2 separate regions of the Homo sapiens genome follow, and region 2 is linked to region 1. The links are contacts of gene promoters, found by promoter capture Hi-C in blood cells and fetal thymus (Javierre and others, 2016). All regions are on one chromosome and are shown on one strand. Each heading gives the region's core, a stretch centred on a gene start or on the middle of the fragment in contact. The rest is flanking DNA. Distances are from core to core; before and after follow the strand shown.

Evidence for each region. Contacts are between HindIII fragments. The CHiCAGO score rates a contact against its expected background, and 5 or more counts as called.
Region 2: a contact is called between a fragment that was not itself captured here and the fragment with the promoter of SEC11A in region 1, in 1 of 17 cell types (neutrophils). The highest score is 6.3, in neutrophils.

The regions. Positions count from the first base shown.
Region 1 is chr15:84,713,678-84,718,771 of GRCh38, forward strand. It overlaps SEC11A (SEC11 homolog A, signal peptidase complex subunit), which reads right to left and starts at 2,462. Exons shown (of 6, transcript NM_014300.4): 1 at 2,348-2,462. The coding sequence starts at 2,398. RefSeq lists enhancers at 2,115-2,680, 2,136-2,205, 2,681-3,246, 2,876-2,995, 3,016-3,125 and 1 more. The HindIII fragment of the contact is 22,021 bases long and covers 1-5,094 here.
Region 2 is chr15:92,811,697-92,816,790 of GRCh38, forward strand. No RefSeq gene overlaps it. Among named protein-coding and RNA genes, the nearest start is that of CHASERR, 69 kb to the right of the region's middle. The HindIII fragment of the contact is 6,670 bases long and covers 1-5,094 here.

The DNA.
Region 1 (5,094 bases), core at 1,212-3,711:
ATGTTTCTGTTCTTTCTTCCTGTCCATTTTATTAGAGCAGGAAGAGTACCTTATATATCTCTATGCTTTAGAGCCTATCTAGCAGGTTTGCAAGTGCTGAGTGAATTCCTTCCCTTTTGATTATTGGAATGCTAACCAACCCAGGTTAAAGATGAAGCTATTAAGGTCTTTCAAGATCCAACTTAAATGCTAGTTTCTCCTTGAAGCTGTTCGTAATGCCCTGACTGGAACCTCTCAAAATTTTCCTACCACTGCTAGAACAGGTCATATCCTTCTTTATCCAAGTGTTCAGGCTTTAAAGTAAGACCTGAGATCAAATCCACATCCTGCCATATACCTTCTTTTTTTTTTTTTTTTTTTTTTGAGACGGAGTCTCACTCTGTCACCAGGCTGGAGTGCGGTGGCACGATCTCAGCTCACTGCAATCTCCACCTCCCAGGCGATTCCCCTGCCTCAGCCTCCTGAGTAGCTGGAACTACAGGCGTGCGCCAACAGGCCCAGCTAGTATCTGTATTTTTAGTAGAGAGGGGGTTTCACCATGTTGGCCAGGATGGTCTCAATCTCTTGACATTGTGATCCGCCTGCCTCAGCCTCCCAAAGTGCTGGGATTACAGGCGTGAGCCACCGCACCCAGTCTACCTTCTGTCTTAAGCAAATCACTAAAGCTCTCTAACAATGACATCGACCACAGTACAGCCAATACTCACCATGTGCCAGACACTCTTCTGAGGGCTTTATATGAATTAACTCATTTAATCTTCATAGCGACCCTACGTTTGCACAACATAGTGAATGCAACTAATGTCAGTGAAGTATACACGTAAAAACGGTTGAAATGGAATATTTTATGTTGCATATCTTTTTACAACAATAAAAGTAAACATAGGCACAGACAGGTTAAGTAATCTGCTCAAAGTCACACAGCCAGTAAGTAGCAGAGCTACTTCAAACCTCTGAAATCTAGCTTTAGAGTCCATATTCTTAACTTCTATACTGTATTGCTTCTCACAAAGTCTCATTTTCTTCATGTTTAATAAGAACAACGTTACCTACCTTACAGGTGTATAAAGTGCTTCACACATGGCAAGAGCTCAAAAAAGTTATTGTTTTGCCTTAGTCCTTTTCTACACATTTAGGCTCCTTGAAGGCCGAGTCTTTCTTAACTATCTTTGCATTTCTCTCATTGTACCTAGCATAGAGTACAATAAATATCAGACTCAAAATAAATACTTTCCTCAGAGAAATATCTGTGGCATCTAGAAATCCAAATATGGATTAAAAAAAGACAACACTATACAAGTAAAAATTTGAAGTGTTGTCATAAAGACATAAAGTAACGTTTGCGCAATTTTTATAGAATGCTCAATTCTGACTGACAGAATTGACACTGAGCTAGCTAAGGCCTGAAGGGGAGTAAGGAAAGGTTGTGTATCTACTTCCCTAAGTGGCAGTTATAAGTACAAAAAATGCAAGTCCAAGGAAAAAAAATCCTTAATGGTGACATCAGGATAATCATAACAGTAAAATACTGTTTAAAACAAAAAAAAAGTCCGATGCAGCAAAACTAGGCTCTACAGACACACTAGGCGCAAAAGATAAAACAGAACAACCTTTTCTAAGGACTAAATAATTACAACAATATTCTCAGTACTATTTGGCATACGATCTAGAAGATCAAAGTAAAGTGTAAGGACAAAATCAGGAGACCTACATTTCCAGATCCCCGTGGCACTGATATTGGACTGTAAAACCATAGATTCCGAGGGCTGCCGCCTTAGTGCTAAGCGGACGCAAGGGCAAGTAGTGTAACTGTTCCAACTCGGAGCCCAGAGTGGTCCAAGTCAAAGTCGGTGCAGCCCGCTACGGTTCAGCTCTACTAAAGGGTTGCAAGGAGCTGAAAGCAGCAAAACGGTTTTTGTGGGGCCTCCAATCGCCTTCCTGAGCGCCCCAGAAACCGGCTAAACCTCGTCTCTCCCGAAACCACCTGGAGTCGCTCCGACTGGAGAAATCAAGAGTCCGCCGCCTTAAAATGACTAAAACAATAAGCAACCCCAACTCCCACTTCAAGCGCGTACGGTTTCCATTTGCTCCCCTGCCTCAGTGGGAGGAATGGAACGTGAAGACACCGCTTCCCGCCCCGCCCCCGGTAGGCCCTGAATCAGTTCGGGGTTAAAAATAATGAGGCGGACAAGGCGGCCTCTGGCCACAGTCTCCAAAGAAAGCGAATGACCCGGGTATCAGACCAGCTCAGACCCTCACACCAGAACCCTGGGGTCCGCCGGGCCCCGCAGCAGCAGCCTCGAAGGGACAAGAAGAGCCAGGAGAAAAAGAGGACGGACAAGCTCACCTGCCGCTTGTTCATCCGCCGCACATCGTCCAAAAAGTCTAGAGACAGCATGGCGGGGACGGCGAGCAGGACACCGGCAGGGGAAAGGGCGCGATGACCAGCGGGCGGAACTACTGGAGCTCGGGTCGGGCTCACACTGGACAGGACCCCGCAGTGCTTGCACTTCCGCTTCCGGGGCGGGAGCTGGCACGGTCGGGCACGGTCCCCGCCCCCCGCGCCCCTTCGCTGCGGAGAGCTGACAGAGAGACTCACGACCTTGCTAGTCCAGTCTCAGGGCTTGGCCTCGCCGTGGGAGGGTTCTCACGCTCTGGCTCTCGCCTGCCAAAAACCGACTGGACGCCACTTCCCGCGCTCGGCCCCGCGGCCCTTCACCGAGGCGGCGACCCAGGCTTAGTTGGGGAGGCTGCTCTGCCACCTTCGGAAGGCGGGCCTCTGTGCCCGCCCGGCCAATCGCGAGCAACCTCTCCGGTGTGGGCGGGTAGAAGCGGTTCCGCGTCCCGGCTTGGGTATGGGTGTGGCAGTGGATGTGTCGTCTGACCGTAGGTTCTCTGGTCGAGCAAGTCTCCTGCGCTATGGGAAGCTGAGGAGGTGCTTTCTTTCTTTCTGTCTCTGTCTCTCTTTCTTTACGTCTCTGTCTCTGTTGAGGTGCTTGCTTGCTTGCTTGCTTACTTTCTGTCTGTCTGTCTCTTTCTCTTTTTCTTTCTCTTTCTCTCTTTCCTTTCTTTCTCACTGTGTCGCCCAGGCTGGAGTGCAGTGGCGCAATCTCAGCTCACTGCAACCTCCGCCTCGCGGGTTCAGGCGATTCTCCTGCCTCAGGCTCCCAAGTAGCTGGGACTACAGGCGCGCGCCACCAAACCTGGCTAATTTTTGTATTTTTAGTAGAGACAGGGTTTCACTATGTTGGCCAGGCTGGTCTCGAACTCTTGAGCTCAGGTGATCCGCCCGCCTTGGCGTCCCAAAGTGCTGGGATTACAGTCGTGAGCCACCGCGCCCGGCCATCGAGGTGCTTTCAATAAGTGCTTTTCGCGTAAGGTTGGACCGTGTGAGAGACCTTCCGAGCACTGCCTGAGCCTGCCAGGAGTTTACAGTCCAATTGGAGAGAAAACAGCCCGGGAGAATTAGAAAACATCCAAATGGTGCAACAGCGTGATGAGACCACCAGTGGTGTGGGTCGTTAGGAAGTGGCTTCCTTTCTGACCTTGACTTTGCTGACAGGATTTGACATGGTCTCCTTGAATTCTACCTCCTGGTTTTCTTAACTTGGACACCTTGAAGTGACTATCTTTTCGCTACCTTTTGCTTTGACTGGCCAAAGCTCCTAATACGCACTTCAGTCAACAAAGACTAAAGCTGGATTACTTGGTATCATTTCTCTCTCTTTTTTTTTTTTTTTTTTTTTTTTCAAAATAATCCTTCTCTCCCATTAGGGAAAGATGAATGAAGGATATACTGGAACTCTTTGTAGTATCCTCGAAATTCTTTAAATGGAAAGTCATTCCAAAATAAAAACTTGAATTTATTGGAGGATGGCTGTAATAAAAAAGACAAATAATAATAAGTTTAGGGGAAGATGTGAAGAAATTGGAACCCTCATATACTGCTGGTGGGAATGTAAAATGGTGCAGCCACTTTGGGAAATAGCTGCAGTTGCTCAAAAGGTTAAAGATGTGCCGTCTGCAGTGGCTCATGCCTGTAATCCCAGCACTTTGGGAGGCTGAGGCAGGCAGATCACCTGAGGTCAGGAGTTCCAGACTAGCCTGGCCAACATGGTGAAAACCCGTCTTTACTAAAGATACAAAAATTAGGCGGGTGTGGTGGTGGGCACCTGTAATCTCAGCTACTGGGGAGGCTGAGGCAGGAGAATCGCTTGAACCCAGGAGGCAGAGTTTGCGGTGAGCCGAGATCGTGCCACTGCACTCCAACCTGGGCGACAAAGTGAGACCCTATCTCAAAACACACAAACAAAAAAAGGTTAAAGATGGAATCACCATATTAACCAGCAATTCCACTGCTAGGTATATACCCAAGAAAATTGAAAACGTTTGTCCACACAAAAACTTGTACATGAATGTTCACAGCAGCATTATTCATAATAGCTAAAAAGTGGAAATAACTGAAATGTTTATCAACTAATGAAGGGATAAATAAATGTGGTATATTGGAATAATGTACTAATAATTCCGCTGGTACAATGGAATATTAATCTGGCAACAAAAGGAAATACTACAACATGAATGACCCTTGAAACAGATTTAGTGAAAGGATCCAGTCACAAAAGACAAAGCATTGCATGATTCCATTTAGGTGAAATATCTAGAATAGACAAATCCACAGAGATGGAAATCAGTGGTTGCCTAGGGCTGGGAGAGTTGGGGAAAATGGGGAGTGGCTGCTAATGGGTATGGAGTTTCTTTTAGGGGATGCTAGTTCTACAACTATGTGAATATACTCAAAACCATTAAATTGTACACTTTACACTGGTGAATTGTATGGTATGTGTATTATATCACAATAAAGCTATTATGAGAAAGAAAAAGAAACCACTGGTGTCTGGCTCACTGTTAAATTCCTAGTGGTGAACACATAGCCTAGCACATGTTATACCCAATAAATACTTGTTGAATTTAAAAGTGTGTGTGTGTGTGTGTGTGTATTTTTGTCACCTCCAAAAACTGCTGCCTCTAGGCACCCCACACTTATTGAGTTGAAAAAAAATTCCTAATTTATCCAATTTAGGAAGACTTGTG
Region 2 (5,094 bases), core at 1,491-3,990, 8.1 Mb after region 1:
AGACAAGGTGTTGCCCAGGTGAGATCATAGTGCGCTACAGCCTAAAACCCCTGGGCTGAAGCAATCCTCCAGCCTGAGCTTCCCAAGTAGCTGGGACTACAGGCACAATATGCTGTATGCAGCTCGTTTTTTGCTTCTGTAAATAATGCTGGCATGAACATTTTAATAGAAAAAGTTTTGTACAGATTTCTGTAAAATAAGATTTACAATGAATCTTTTAAGGTTTTTTGATACATATTTTAACTCTCCAAACCGAATTGTTAATTGTATTGCCTCCCCAACCTAGCTCATGTCCTAGCTCAACTTTAATTGCCCTCACTCTTCTAAATTGATATTGGTTTTTTAATGAAAATTGTAAATTGTATATTCTCTATGTATTTTTTTATATGCATGTGTGTCCAATAAATACCGGACATGGACATTAACTTCAAGTTAAATATTTAAAAGGACTCCTTCACCGTCAACCTGCTTAATACACGGAAACCTGTTTTTCTTTTTAACTAGTTCATTTCTATGTGGAGATGTGAGGCAAAGGAAACTAATTGCTAAAATTTTCTTTCTGATGTGCAGCAAGGATATAAACTTTGCCCTAAAATTATTTAAGTGTAAATGAACGTTTGGTTTTGTTGTTTGTTTGGTTGTTTGTTTTTGAGATGGAGTTTCACTCTTGTTGCCCAGGCTGGAGTACAATGGCGCTGTCTCGGCTTATTGCCACCTCCACCCCTCTGGGTTCAAGCGATTCTCCTGCCTCGGCACCCGGAGTACCTGGATTACAGGCGCGTGCCAACATGTCTGGCTTGTATTTTTAGTAGAGACATGGTTTTTCCACGTTGGCCAGGCTGCTCCCGAACTCCTGACCTCAGGTGATCCACCTGCCTCAGCTTGCCAAAGTGCTATGATTACAGGTTTGAGCCACAGTGCCCGGCCTTTTTTGTTTGTTTGTTTGTTTGTTTTCTGACATGGCGTCTCAATCTTATTGCCCAGGCTGGAGTGCAATGGCTCTGTCTCGGCTCACTGCAACCTCTGCCTCCAGGGTTCAAGTGATTCTCCTGCCTCAGCCTCCCGAGTAGCTGGAATTACAGATGTGTGCCACCATACCCGGCTAATTTTCGTAATTTTAGTGGAGACGGGGTTTCACCATGTTGGTCAGGCTGATCTCGAACTCCTGATCTCATGATCCACCCGCCTCAGCCTCCCGAAGTGCTGGGATTACAGGCGTGAGCCACCGCGCCCGGCCCACGTCAGGCTAATTTTTTTGTATTTTTTGGTAGCAACGGGGTTTCACCATGTTGGTCAGGCTGGTCTCAAACTCCCGACTGATCTCAAGGGATCTGCACACCTCAGCCTCCCAAAGTGCTGGGATTACAAGCGCGAGCCACCACGCCTGGCCACCTCCTATATTTTTAACCCTAGTTTCTCTTTAAATGAAATCCTTCTACTTACTATACTTGCAATAAAATACATTCCAGTAGAATGAAGAAAACTTTGTTAATATTAAAAGGATATGGGGCTGTAAGAACTATCATAGGCCAGGCACAGTGGCTCACGCCTGTAATCCTAGCACTTTAGGAGGCCGGGCAGGGTAGATCACTGGAGGTCAGGAGTTCGAGACCAGCCTGGCCAAGATGGCAAAACCCCATCTCTACTGAAAATACAAAAATTAGCTGGGCGTGGTGGCGGGCACCTGTAATCCCAGCTACTCGGGAGGCTGAGGCAGGAGAATCGCTTGAACCCTGGAGGCGGAGGTTGCAGTAAGCTGAGATCGTGCCATTGTACTCCAGTGTGGGCAACAAGAGTGAAACTCCATCTCAAAAAAAATAAAAACTACCATAGATGGCAGTCATTATTCTGTAATAGTCTTCCTTTTAGTGACAGTACCCTATGGCAGAGGTTGATCTCTTCGACTACGGTATTTGAGGTCAATTCAAAGTCTCCAAGTAAACCTTTGCAAAGTTACTAAGTAGTCTGATTCTACAGAACCACAATAAACGTGAGAATTTTTTTTTTACCTAACCAGCACTGTGCATCTGAGATTAAAATCTGTTACCAGAGATTCATGGTGATCCTTTCAAAGCAGCTCTAGATATTTTTGTTTGTTTTATCATTCGTATTTCATAGCTGATACCTAAAGCAGATAATGATGAATATTTTACATTTCAATTGTTTTAAGGAACACTTGACTTTGAACAGCTTGTGGAAGCTATAGCTCTTAGAAGCCTGTCTCCTTAAAGCTGAAATTTCATATCTGCTACTGATATGACTGAGGAAGAAGAGAGGGAGGAGAAGAAGAAAAAAAGTTCTTTTTAATCTCAAGGGCCTTTGAAAATATCCTTTTACTGAGGTACAGTTACTGCCTAGCAATGAAAGGAAAACGTCTTGTAAATTTGCCTCTTTCCTCAGTCCTTCCAGAAATGAAAGAGGCAATCTATAGGTTGTCTCATATCCTAGACTGTAGACCCCAGAGTCTTTGCTGCTAAATTGGCAAGTTCAATAGTCTTTTTTTTTTTTGAGACGGAGTCTTGTTCTGTTGCCCAGGCTAGAGGGCAGTGGCACTATCACGGCTCACTGCAACCTCAGCCTCCCAGATTCAAGCGATTCTCCTGTCTCAGCCTCCCAAGTAGCTGGGATTACAGGTGCCCACCACCGCGCCCGGATAATTTTTGTATTTTTAGTAGAGCTAGGGTTTCACCATCTTGGCCAGGCTGGTCTCAAACTCCTGACCTCGTGATCCACCCGCCTTGGCCTCCCAAAGTGCTGGGATTACAGGTGTGAGCCACCACGCATGGTCTTCAATAGTCTGTTATTCCAAAATTATACTGTACTTGCCACAGCCATTCCTTTGCTCTCTCCAAATCATTTAGAGAACACAGAATAGTAAAGAGGAATAAAACAAAGGCATGAATAATGGGAAAAAATTAGAAGCGAGTACATGATCATCTTAAAAACAATCCCAGAGAATGCAATGCTCTTTCCTTGGGCGATCAGTTCTGACCACACCCTTTTTTTTTTTTGAGACGGAGTCTCCCTCTTTCGCCCAGGCTGGAGTGTACAATCTCAGATCACTACAGCCTCCACTTCCCAGGGTTCAAGCAATTCTCCTGCCTCAGCCTCCATAGTAACTAGGACTACAGGTGCGTGCCACCACGCCTGGCTAATTTTTCTATTTTTTGGTAGAGACAGGGTTTCACCATGTTGGTCAGGCTGGTCTCAAACTCCTGACCTCAAGTGATCTGCCCACCTCGGCCTCCCAAAGTGCTGGGATTACAGGTGTGAGCCACCAACCCTGGCCTCCCCCTATATTTTTAACCCTGTTTTCTCATGGGCACATTCCAACAGGGTTAGGGCTCTAGGCCTATGTATCACTACTAGTCTCCCCCAAATTTCTCTTCCTCCCCCATATCAAATAGCCCTAAAGCCTTGCTCCTGGTTCTTCCAAGGCCCTGTGGAACTGTGTTTGAGAACTGGGACTTGGGCCGGGCGCAGAGGGTCAAGCCTGTAATCCCAGCACTTTGGGAGGTTGAGGCGGGCGGATCACGAGGCCAGGAGATCGAGACCATCCTGGCTAACATGGTGAAACCCCATCTATACTAAAACTATACAGAATTAGCCAGGAGTGGTGGCACATGCCTGTAGTCCCACCTACTCAGGAGACTGAAGCAGGAGAATCGCTTGAATCCGGGAGGTGGAAGTTGCAGTGAGCTGAGATCACGCCTCTGCACTCCAGCCTGGGCGACAGAGTGAGACTCCGTCTCAAAAAAAAAAAAAAAAAAAAAGAACTGGGACTTGGGAGTCAGAGGGAGGCAGAGTTGGAGTCCAGTTCTGTCCTTTCCAAACTGTGTAACATTGAGCAGTTAATATTTCTGAGCTTCAGTTTCCTACTTGTAAATTGCAAATATTTCTTTATTTGTTCCAAGAATTGGATAAATGCTGGACAGTATGTAGTACTTAGTAAAATGCCTGGCACAAATAATAAATTCTCAATAGACGGTGGTAATTATCAATCCTGCTTCCTTAATCCACTTTCTGCCCGCTGTCAATGCCTCCTTCTCCTTTGGCCAATTGCCTCCTAATTAGTCTCCACCATGCCCGGCTAATTTTTGTATTTTAAGTAGAGACGGGGTTTCGCCATGTTGGCCAGGCTGGTCTTGAACTCCTGACCTCAGGTGATCCGCCCACCTCGACCTCCCAAAGTGCTAGGATTACAGGCGTGAGCCACTGCGCCCAGCCTATATGCACTGATTTCTAAAATACATTGTTAAATGGGAAAAAATAGGCCGAGTGTGGGGGCTCATGCCTGTAATCCCAGCAGTTTGGGAGGCCAAGGCGGGAGGATCACCTGAGGTCAGGAGCTCGAAACCACCCTGACCAACATGGAGAAACCTGTCACTACTAAAAATACAAAATTAGCCGGGCATGGTGGCACATGCCTGTAATCCCAGCTACTCAGGAGGCTGAGGCAAGACAATCGCTTGAACCCGGGAGGCAGAGGTTGCAGTGAGCCGACACTGTGCCATTGCACTCCAGCCTGGGCAACAAGAGCGAAACTCCATCTCAAAGAAAAAAAAAAGGAGGTATGAAAAACTGAATACAAAATGCATCTATTTGTGTAAAAAAAAGAGAAAGGAGTGATATTTATTTTCATTTTATTTATTTATTTATTTAATTTTGGGACAGAGTCTCGCTCTGTCTCCCAGGCTGGAGTGCAGTGGCGTGATCTTTGCTCACTGCAAGCTCCGCCTCCCAGGTTCACGCCATTCTCCTGCTCAGCCTCCTGAGTAGCTGGGACTACAGGCACCCACCGCCATGCCCAGCTAATTTTTTTGTACTTTTAGTAGAGATGGGGTTTCACCATGTTAGCTAGGATGGTCTCGATCTCCTGACCTCGTGATCTGGCAGCCTCGGCCTCCCATAGTGCTAGGATTACAGGCGTGAGCCACCACGCCTGGCCAGAGTGATATTTATATTAATGGGAAGGATGCCTCTGATGGGCAGTCAAGGGTCTGGGTGAGGAAAGATTTTCTTTTCACTGTATACTGTTTTGTATTGTTGGGAAAATGTCTAACGATTTGCATAAATATTAAATTTTTTAATTAA